Linked DNA regions of Homo sapiens: all the other regions are linked to region 2. The links are contacts of gene promoters, found by promoter capture Hi-C in human tissues and cell types (Jung and others, 2019). All regions are on one chromosome and are shown on one strand. Each heading gives the region's core, a stretch centred on a gene start or on the middle of the fragment in contact. The rest is flanking DNA. Distances are from core to core; before and after follow the strand shown.

Region 1 (2,700 bases), core at 122-2,621, 180 kb before region 2:
CTACGGGCTTCCTGCTCAGAGAGAGGCAGATGAGCCCCACGTTGCTACCGCGGTCGTCCATCCCGTGCTCTTGTCTGTGCCGGCAGCTGGCAGGAGATGCTGCGGCCGTCGTGCGTGATGGATCATGAGGTGCAGTCACGGATGTTTATCCTCCAGTGACCTCGTCTCTCTTGTGGCTGCTGAGGAGATGCACATGGGGCGTGATCATTCGTATTGATCAATTTGCTGCTCATTTGCCACGTCGTCAATGTTTTCACACAGGGTCCACTTTACTCTTCCAGGCAGGAAAGCGGCTGCACCGACCTGCGGCCAGGAAGAAGGGGACAGAATCGACTCCCAGGGGGTCTGGGGGGAGCAGGAGTCTGCTCTGGCTCAGGAAGGCTCTAGAAGGGCCACCAAGAGCAGCCGCAACAGTGCACAAGGACCTTGTGATGAGAGCTACCTGAGCGAGTCCCAACCTGATCAGACGCACCATGTAGGGGGAGCCGGGGCCCCATTGCAGCTGCCTCGGGGAAGCAGTGACCACAGGCCCGGCTGAACCTGATGGTGACGGGGAAGGGAGGGACTGGTGTGCACACAGGTGTCCATGTGCCTGTATGTATGCAGGTGTGTGTGTGACACACACATACATGTGATATACGCAGGCGTGTGAGATACACATACATGTGACATATGCAGGCGTGTGAGATACACATACATGTGATATATGCAGGCGTGTGTGAGACACATACCTGTGGTGTATGCAGCTGTGAGACACATACATGTGATATATGCAGGTGTGTGAGACACACACATGATAGATGCAGGCGTGTGAGGCATATATGTGTATGCAGGTGTGTGAGACACATACAAGTGATATATGCAGATGTGTGTGACATACATGTGGTGTATGCAGGCATGTGTGACACATATACATGTGATATATGCAGGCGTGTGTGAGACATACATACCTGTGGTGTATGCAGGCGTGTGAGATACACATACATGTGACATATGCAGGCGTGAGACATACATACCTGTGGTGTATGCAGGCGTGTGAGATACACATACATGTGACATATGCAGGCGTGTGAGATACACATACATGTGACATATGCAGGCGTGAGACATACATACCTGTGGTGTATGCAGGTGTGAGACACATACATGTGACTTATGCAGGCGTGTGAGACACATACATGTGACATATGCAGGCGTGTGAGACACACATACATGTGACATATGCAGGCGTGACATACATACCTGTGGTGTATGCAGGTGTGTGATACACATACATGTGACATATGCAGGCGTGTGACATATACGTGTGACATGCAGGCGTGTGAGATACACATACATGTGACATATGCAGGCGTGAGACATGCATACCTGTGGTGTATGCAGGCGTGTGAGACACATACATGTGACATGCAGGCATGTGAGATACACATACATGTGACATATGCAGGCGTGAGACATACATCCCTGTGGTGTATGCAGGCGTGTGAGATACACATACATGTGACACATGTAGGCGTGTGAGACACATGTGACATGCAGGCGTGTGACTTACATACCTGTGGTGTATGCAGGCGTGTGAGACACACATGCATGTGACTTATGCAGGCGTGTGAGACACACATACATGTGACATATGCAGGCGTGAGACATACATACCTGTGGTGTATGCAGGCGTGTGAGATACACATACATGTGACATATGCAGGCATGTGAGATACACATACATGTGACATGCAGGCGTGTGAGATACATACATGTGACATGCAGGCGTGAGACATACATACCTGTGGTGTATGCAGGCGTGAGACACACATGCATGTGACTTATGCAGGCGTGAGACACATACATGTGACATATGCAGGCGTGTGACATACATACCTGTGGTGTATGCAGGCGTGTGAGATACACATACATGTGACGTATGCAGGCATGTGACATACATACCTGTGGTCCACACCTGTCTGCACACGCCTCCTGTTACTGATGGTTAACTCAGTGGCTGGCACACTCACCACCTTCTCACTGTGGCTGGCAACAAGCTGCTGTTCTGCACCAGGACCTCCTCTCAGGCTCCCAGCAAAGGAGGCCGGCAGCTTTGACACGAGGGTCCGGGAGCCGTGGCTCCTCCAGGTTAGTGGTGCACACAGCGCTTGCCACACCGCCCACTGCCTCACTCCGTGCTGTGCCTGGTGCTGCGTGGGTCCTGAGGCTCCTGCTCCTGACCCTGGTGCCGCTGGGACAGAGTCCAGGTGGGAGGGCAGTGTGTGGTGTGTGTGTGGCCAGTCCCCAGGGACAGGACGCCCGAGGGAACAAAGCCCCCACCCCTTGGCCAGGGCTAGAAGGGCCCCGAGAGAGCAGCAGCCGCAGTTCACAGAGTAGGGAAACTGAGGCAGAGCAGGCTCAGGTCTTGTGTGTTGGGCCTGGACACCTGGCAGGAAGGCAGCCCCAAGGGCCGCTGTTGGGTGGGAACGTGGGGCCAGCTTGGCACTCCTGAGCTGCCTCAGGCCTGGCCTGTCTAGGCCTCAGTGGACCGGCCAGCCTAATGCCTGGGCTGCTGGCCTGGGCCCTATCTGTTAAACGAATGGAGGAGGCAGGAGCTGGGTCCATGGTCTCCCTGCCAGGGAAGCCGCAGGTGGAGGGAAGGCAGAGGGCGGCAGGGGCTTCACCCTGGCCCCTGATGAGGGAGGGGCAGAAAGAATG
Region 2 (2,700 bases), core at 39-2,538:
CAGCAGGGGACGTGGGGACCGAATGATGGCACCAGGGGATGGGCCCCGGGCTGGCAGGAATGTCCCCTCCAGCCTCAGTCCTGGGGGCAGAACGGCCGACCACCCAGGGCAGGGGAGGCCCCGGGTGGGCCTGGCGTCTGGGAAGTTCCCCAGCAGGAACAAACACATCCCCACTGTAAGCTGGACACACACGCTGGCATGCAGCTTGTTGTCACCAACTCGAGAAAGACACTCGACTATTGGGACAGGGAGACCCGGGACACCTGGAGACCCTGCGGGGAAGGAGTCGGCTTTTACTCCTGCACGGCTTGAATTATTAACTGCGTGCAAACGTGACCTAAAACTCAAATCAAATCAAATCAAAATAGCACAGATGCCCGTGAGCCGGCCCTGGGTCTGCGGGCTCCACACCTCTGGCCTGTCTGAGGCCGGGAAACCTCCAGCCATGGCATCAGAAAAGCCACCGAACCAGGGCTGCAGGGCCGAAGGGTCACTGTCCCCTCCCAGGAAGCTCCTGCCCTCTGACAGTTGTCAGGGAGCTTTAGAAAGTGGCTTTTTTTCCCAGCATCTGGGATGTGCCTCACTCTCTCAGCCCAACGGCCGCTAGAAAGGGGTCCTAGGACTCTCCCTAGGGTCTAAGTAGTCCCAAGAGTGCTCTGAGGTGGCTTCTGGAATTTCCCAGACTGGAGAAGCCACCTACCCCCGACCCCCGCAAACTCCAGGCTGCTCACCGGAGGCGGCCGCTGGGGCGTGGGGTGAGGGTCTTTCTGAGGCACCCCCGGAGAGTGGGGGAGCCCTGCTGTCTCCACAGAGGGCCAGGAGCCCTGTGCACGAGGCCAAGCAGAGAGAGAGGGTTTCCTTCCCAGCAGGCGGGAGGTACTTTGAGGACAGGTCAGGTGCCCAAGAACCCCGGAGCAGGGGCTGAGGAGAGGCTGGTCAGAGGCCCCGCCTTGCTCAAGGGCACAGTCAGCAGACACAGGAACACGGGCAGGGTGGCCCCTGGAGCGGGGGCAAACTAAAAGGGGTGCTGGGGAAAGCTCGGCTGACTGAGGGCTAGCGGAGAGGGAGGACACCCCCAGATACCCCAGGCTGAAGGAAGGGCCAAGCCCTGGGGGGAAGATGGGTGGGCGGGACAGGCCAAGGGCTCTGGGCCAGGATGGAGCTGCCCTCAGGCCTGCACACCTGCCCTGGGGCCGAGGAAACACATGCCCAGTGGCCACGCTGTAGGGCTCAGGGTGGGTGGGACGTCACCAGAGCTGCCTGGGAGGAGGAAGTTGTTGGAAGGTCAAACCGGAATGGCCCGAGGGAAGGCCGCGCAGGGCAGGGCCCCAGATGGTTCCTGTCAGGGAAGTGGCGGGCGCAGCTGCAGGCCTCCGGCCCCGGCATTATCACGGGGACACAGCTGGCTGCCTCACCCGCAGGCTGCAGGGAGACCTTCCCCAGCCTGCAGCCCCAGGCCCGCCCCGCGTCACATGAGCCCCAGGGCTCCCACCCCCTCCCCAGGGCAGAGGACACCCAGTTGGTGGCCGGGAGGGCCTCGGCTTTCCAGGGACAGAGGCCCAACTCCAGGACGCCCCAGCTGGCCCAGCCCCTCCTCTTTCCCTCAAGGCTGCAGGAGGTCGGGAAAGGCAGTCCTGGTAGAGGCCTGTCCTGGGCTCCAGGTTGGCCCCTGAGGGTGGCCCTCCTCATGCCGGCTTCAAGACTGAGGGACAGGGCAGCCAGTTCAGCCTCGGGATCCACCTGTGGCTCCATGTCCCAGACGCACCCTGTGCTGGAGAGCGGCCTCCTGGCATCTGCCGGCTGCTCCGCACCCCGGGGTCCCAGGAAGGGCGGCCCAGGTAAGAGGCTCGAGGGGAAGGTGGTGGGGTGGGGGCAGAGAGCGGCAGCCGGTGCCGGGGCTGTGACTCCTTAGAGCTTCGCGGGGCCTGCCCAGCTTAGTTGACAGTGCCGGCACGGATGGCCGTGTTGACTCACCTCAGATATCAACAGGGCCACCCCACAGGCAGGTCCTGCACAGCTGGGGCAGGTGGGCTGGTGAGGGTTTGGCAGGTGCCAGCCAGGTGCCCCAGCCCCACCCAGAGGCAGATGCTGGAGGCCGGGCTGCTCAGCCCCGTCTAGGAGGGTGGGCTGTGTTCTCCTGGGGGTGGGAGGGCCGCAGCCGGGAAGTGATGGGGGGGTCCTAGAAAGAGAGCCCTCCTCCTCCTGGGATGCCCTCCGGGTGTGACACCTCACAGCAGGTTGGATGAGGAAACTGAGGCCAGAGGGGAGGGCACTGGCCCAAGACCCCGGTGAGGAGGAAATGGACCCAACCCTGGGCCCCTGTCCGAGGAACGATTCCAGCCAGGGCAGTGGGGGTTTACGGGGAACCTGGGCCTGCCCTTCTGGGGGCTTCGGGCTCTGGGGAGGGGTCCAGTCCAGCAGGACGCCAGCTATTGCTGATACCCCCCACCCGAGCCTGCGAAGTCCCAGGACAAGGATCCCCGGACGCTGGGGGCTGCAGCTGCAGGCTGGTGGCCCCGATTCCCAGTGGCCCTCGTGGCCACACTCCCAGCAGCCGTCGGAACCTTCAGGAGCTCACAGTCTCCCGTCTCGCGGGGCTCTCACTGAGGCCGTCAGGTCCAAGGTCTGACTGCACCCCTGACACTCACACACAGAACCCGGGACCGAGGGGTGTCCCCATCTCTGGAGACCACATTCCCT
Region 3 (2,739 bases), core at 48-2,547, 230 kb before region 2:
CCATGGTACTTGATCTTCTTTGGGTGTGTGGTCTTATTTCTTTCGTTCATTTGTTTAGTTTATGGGTGCCCTTTTATTTATCAGCCAATCTGATAGCATGCTAGACATAACACACATCACATAAGCAAAGCAACCTAAATAAGAGAGCTGGATCCAAGTTATTTACAAAATTGGGACCTCTCTACCTGGCTAAACTTTGTTTGCTCTAATGGGTGTGGAATACAGGGTGAGGCAGGGAAGGGGATCTCAGAGCAGCAAATAAGGAAGGGCGGGGGTGATCCTGGCTCACCCAATATTGGCAGAACACACAGCAGGGACACTTACCTGTCCACAGGAGCCAAAATGGCACTGCCCGGTCTCCCCCAGGTCTCCCTGGTTTGGAGGGGTTCAGCCATTAGGAGGGGAGCAGCGTGTGGTTCTGCAACCAGCCGATCGGAGCAGTGGGTCTCACACGAGGTGGTGCTGTGGCTACTTGCCTGTCCACTCGGCTCCGCCACCTGTCAGGAAAGACGATGGCCCCTGAAAGAGCCTGTGGCTAGTGTCACAGGTCTGCAGTGTCACAGCGTTCCACTGTCCCAGCCGTGATATTTGCAGCTTTGATGGCCATGGCACTGGTCACTGTCTCTCACTGACCCGCCACCTTGCGTCATTTGCTGCCCTGCCAATCACCGCCTCTCTGCCTCTCACTGTCTTCTCTTCATCCCTTTGTGGCCGCCAAGGTGATGTAGGGCAGCTGAGCCCCAAAATTGCAGCTTGGCCCAGGAGGGTCCTTGACTTCACCCCAGAAAGTATGCGAGGGCGAGGCAGCGGTGGAAGAGGCGGCTTTACTGAGCAGCCATGCACAGAGAGTGGCTGCTCCATGTACAGAGAGTGGCTGCTCCATGCACAGAGAGTGGCTGCTCCATGTACAGAGAGTGGCTGCTCCATGTACAGAGAGTGGCTGCTCCATGCACAGAGAGTGGCTGCTCCATGTACAGAGAGTGGCTGCTCCATGCACAGAGAGTGGCTGCTCCATGTACAGAGAGTGGCTGCTCCTTGCAGAGCAAGTCCAATCAACAGGCAGGGCACCCAGAGCAGCCACTTGGAGGCTGCTGGCAGCTGTATTTACCCATATTTAATGACACACAAATTAAAGAGGTTATTGGCCGGGCGCGGTGGCTCACGCCTGTAATCCCAGCACTTTGGGAGGCCAAGGAGGGCGGATCACGAGGTCAGGAGATCGAGACCATCCTGGCTAACACAGTGAGACCCCTGTCTCTAGTACAAAATACAAAAAATTAGCCCGGCGTGGTGGCAGGCGCCTGTAGTCCCAGCTACTCGGGAGGCTGAGGCAGGAGAATGGCACGAACCCGGCAGGCGGAGCTTGCAGTGAGCTGAGATAGTGCCACCGCACTCCAGCCTGGCGACAGAGCGAGACTCCATCTCAAAAATAAATAAATAAATAAATAAATAAATAAATAAATAAATAAATAAATAAATAATAAGTAACCTCTTTATTTTATTTTTTGAGACCAAGTCTCGCACTGTTGCCCAGTTTGGAGTGTACTGGCGTGATCTTGGCTCACTGCAGCCTCCGCCTCCCAGGTTCAAGAGATTTGCTTGCCTGGGTGTTCGGTGGCTCACGCCTGTAATCCCAGCACTTCAGGAGGCCGAGGTGGGCAGATCACAAGGTCAGGAGTTCAAGACCAGCCTGGCCAAGATGGTAAAACCCCATCTCTACTAAAAATACGAAAATTAGCTGGGCGTGGTGGAGCACGCCTGTAATCCCAGCTACTTGGGAGGCTGAGGCAAGAGAATCACTTGAACCCAGGAGGCAGAGGTTACAGTGAGCCGAGATCACGCCACTGCACTCCAGCCTGGGTGACAGAGCGAGACTCCATCTCAAGACAAAACAAAAAAAAACAAAAACAGAAATATCTCAAATCAACTTAAACAACCAGAAAGGAACAACCTAAACCCAAAGCTAGTAGAAATAAGAAAATAATAAAAGATTAGAACAAAAATAACAGAAATGAAAAATAGAGGATGAAACCAAAAGTTGATTTTTTGCAAAGATCAACAAAATTGACAAACTTTTTGCTAAATGGACTAAGAAAAAAGAGAACACTCAAGTTACCAATAGTAGAAATCCAAGTGGGGACATTACCACTGATTCTACAGAAATAAAAAGACCGCAAGAGAGTGTTATGAAAAAAGTCGTACACAAATTGTATAACCCAGATGAAATGAACACATTCCCAGACACGCTAAACATACCAAGACTAAATCAGGAAGAAGTTAGAAATCTGAGTGGACCTGTAAGTAGTATGGAAGTAGAATCACTAGTCAAAATTCTGATAAAGAAAAGCCCTGGTGGGCACCGTGCCCACACCTGTGATCCCAGCACTGGGGGAGGCCGAGACGGGCGGATCATGCGAGGTCAGGAGTTCAAAGCCAGCCTGGCCAACATGGTGAAACCCCATTTCTACTAAAAATACAAGAAAATTAGTTAGGCATGGTGGCACACGTCTATAGTCCCAGCTACTCGGGAAGCTGAGGCAGGAGAACTGCTTGAACCTGGGAGGCAGAGGTTGAAGTGAGCTGAGATCATGCCACTGCACTCCAGCCTGGGCGACAGAGTGAAGCTGCGTCTCAAAAAAAAAAAGAAAAGCTCTAGACCTGATGCCTTCACTAGTGACTTCTACCGCATGTTTAAAGATGATTTAATGTTAAAAATTCTCAAACACTTCCAAAACACTT
Region 4 (2,700 bases), core at 199-2,698, 220 kb after region 2:
AGCTGGTAGCAAAAGAAGTCAAGACCTAGCAAGGTGCCTGCCCCGGCCAGGAGGCCCAGGTTCTAGCCCTGCAGCTGCCGCTGTGAGCTCTGGGGACTCAGACGACTGATGTCCTTCCCAGCTTCTGTTTCCTTTGATGAGAGGAAGGTTGGACCAAGCGACCTGCCCTGCTTCTGTCTGTTTCCTCCAGTCCTTTTCCTTTTTGACCAGTTCACTTGTTGATAACTCCAGCAACGCATGAAAACATTCCCCTTGTAAAAAAGGGAAATGCCGTGGGTAGGGGGGACCAAGGACCTCTTCTGCAGGAGCAGACGCAACAGCTTGGTGTGGATCTTCCTCAGCCTTTTTGTCCATCCTAGACATGTGGAATTTCAGTTTTACACAAAAGGAATGGTAGGCGTCTGACTCTCTGTGGCTTGTATCACTTGGCAGTGCCACAGGGATTGGTGCATGTTTGCTCTCTCATGCTATGTGTCAGGCACTGTTGTCTCTGCGACAATCCTGTGAGGAGGGAGTTATGGTTCTTGATTTATAGACGAACAAACTAAGACAGAGGAGATTGGGCTCATCTGTGGTCATCTCAGCAGTTGTGAGAGGTCAGGGCCAGAGCCCAGTGGTGTCATTCTGCAGGGCACATACAGACACGACCCACAGGGTTCTGCCGCACCCCCTGCCGCTTGGCCTGCTCTGCAGGTGGGTGCCGAGGCTGTTCCTGCATCTGCTGTGTCTTGTGAGTCCGTGGGTGCCTGTGGAGTGGGGGCAGTGGGTTTGCATTTCCAAGCACTGCCTCTGTCATAGGCTCAGGGAGAAGCAGTTACGCATGAGCTGCTATGAGCCACGGGTATGACTGGCATCACAGCAGGAGGAGCCCTGGGGATGGCTGAGTGACGATGGGTGGGGACAGAGCTCACAGAAGCCAGGGTTGCCCCCAGGCCAGGCCACTGCTGGGGCCAAGGCTGGGATGCAGCACGATGTTGGTCTGTCAGGGAGTGGCAGGAAGCCCACAGGGTCAGCTGACACTTAACCCAGAGTGGTGGGAGCCTTGAATGCCAGACTGAGGGCCACACAGTTGGTCTCGGTGCACAAGGACTTGGGCTGAGAGGGCTGTTGCTCCTCAATGGCCATCTCCTTGTGGGAGGAGAGTCCGGGCAGCCGCTTCCAGGAACCCACCCATGCTTGAAATAGTGGGACCACAGGGCTGAGGAGGCTCCTGGGGATTCCTCCCAGGATTCAGCTGCTCTGTCCCCAACCCCGGAGGGCCTATTCGTCTAGCCCTATATCCTCTCTGCCAGTTAGGTCAGGGCAGAGAAGTAGAGGCACAGAGGGTGGCGGAGGGGTGTCCAGCCAGGCCTTTCTGTGGCACCTTCTGAGGCTGGCTGGAGTCTGTGAAATCTGTGATAACTGGCCCAGACCCTTCCTGCCTCCTGGGGCATCTGCTGGAGCTGAGGCTGCTGGGGGAGTCTGCCTGTGACTTGAGTCTCTTGCTGGGCCATGCTGGGCTCAGTTCGCCTGTCTGTGGGGTGGGATGGTGCCACCCTTAGGTTGTTGGGAGGACCCAAGGAGAGTGATGCCTCCAGCCATGGCAGCTGGCCCAGCTCCGGCCCGCAGCCTGGCTCCTTCAGGGCCAGGAACCCCCAGGTCATGGACTCCAACCCTCGGGCTCTCCTGCTTCCCAGGTGACGAAGCTTCAACCCATGGGCTCTCCTTCCTGGGTGTGGAAGCCCTGGAGAAGGTGGAGATGGGATCTCAGTCCAGCCCATTGGCTCCACTTCCTTTGAGAAGCTCTTTCCCCCGTCTTGGCCCCCAGCCCTTGTTCAAGCACCTGTCCCTCTCCTGTCTCCTAGGCCCCGTCAGTCCTTTTGGAGACCTGTTCCCACCCGCCCCTGCTCTCACAGGCTGCCAGTGTCCACACACTCTCAGGCACTGTCATTGGAGCCTTTTAACCACACGGGAAAGCAGGCAGGTTAGGTAACTACCCCCCACCCCCCCGCCAGCAACGCCCCCTGCATACCCAGGGCCTGCACCAGGTGCTGCTGCGCTGCCAGCTCTCTCGAGGTCCCTCCTCCTAACCTCAATGCATCGCGTCTTCCAGCCCCCGGCTCCGAGGGCTCAGCCTCCAGGTGGTCTAACCTGGAGTCTAAACCTGGATTGCCATCTGCCTGCCTCAGCCCTTCCCTTCCCCAGGGACCGAGGGCCAGTGCGGCTCCCCAGCCACCCATTTTTTGTTTGTTTTGAGACGGAGTCTCGCTCTGTCGCCCAGGCTGGAGTGCAGTGTCCTGATCTCGGCTCACTGCAAGCTCCATCTCCTGGGTTCACGCCATTCTCCTGCCTCAGCCCCCCAAGTAGCTGGGACTACAGGTGCCCGCCACCACACCCGGCTACTTTTTTGTATTTTTAGTAGAGACAGGGTTTCACCATGTTGGCCAGGATGGTCTCGATCTCCTGACCTTCTGATCTGCCCGCCTCGGCCTCCCAAAGTGCTGGGATTACAGGCATGAGCCACTGCACCTGGCTTGTTTGTTTTTATTTTTATTGTTTTTTGAGACGGAATCTTGCTCTATTGCCCAGGCTGGAGTGCAGTGACATAATCTCAGCTCACTGCAACCTCCACCTCCCAGGTTCAAGCGATTCTCTTGCCTCAGCCTCCCAAGTAGCTGGGACTACAGGCACCCACCACCACACCCAGATACATTTTGTATT

What was found. Contacts are between HindIII fragments. The study calls those that stand out against the background at their distance.
Region 1: a contact is called between a fragment that was not itself captured here and the fragment with the promoter of CBFA2T3 in region 2, in 3 of the 25 tissues and cell types used here (IMR-90 fibroblasts, hippocampus and spleen).
Region 3: a contact is called between a fragment that was not itself captured here and the fragment with the promoter of CBFA2T3 in region 2, in 2 of the 25 tissues and cell types used here (lymphoblastoid cells and spleen).
Region 4: a contact is called between a fragment that was not itself captured here and the fragment with the promoter of CBFA2T3 in region 2, in 3 of the 25 tissues and cell types used here (H1 embryonic stem cells, dorsolateral prefrontal cortex and lymphoblastoid cells).

What each region holds. Positions count from the first base shown.
Region 1 is chr16:89,156,695-89,159,394 of GRCh38, reverse strand. It overlaps LINC00304 (long intergenic non-protein coding RNA 304), which reads right to left and starts at 175. Exons shown (of 4, transcript NR_024347.2): 1 at 5-175. RefSeq lists an enhancer at 110-279. The HindIII fragment of the contact is 4,775 bases long and covers 1-2,700 here.
Region 2 is chr16:88,975,795-88,978,494 of GRCh38, reverse strand. It overlaps CBFA2T3 (CBFA2/RUNX1 partner transcriptional co-repressor 3), which reads left to right and starts at 1,288. Exons shown (of 12, transcript NM_005187.6): 1 at 1,288-1,838. The coding sequence starts at 1,688. RefSeq lists enhancers at 867-916, 2,619-2,700. The HindIII fragment of the contact is 13,654 bases long and covers 1-2,700 here.
Region 3 is chr16:89,207,505-89,210,243 of GRCh38, reverse strand. No RefSeq gene overlaps it. Among named protein-coding and RNA genes, the nearest start is that of SLC22A31, 8.3 kb to the right of the region's middle. The HindIII fragment of the contact is 6,212 bases long and covers 1-2,739 here.
Region 4 is chr16:88,756,609-88,759,308 of GRCh38, reverse strand. The region is part of intron 1 of PIEZO1 (piezo type mechanosensitive ion channel component 1 (Er blood group)); the gene reads left to right. Among named protein-coding and RNA genes, the nearest start is that of PIEZO1-AS1, 15 kb to the right of the region's middle. The HindIII fragment of the contact is 9,363 bases long and covers 1-2,700 here.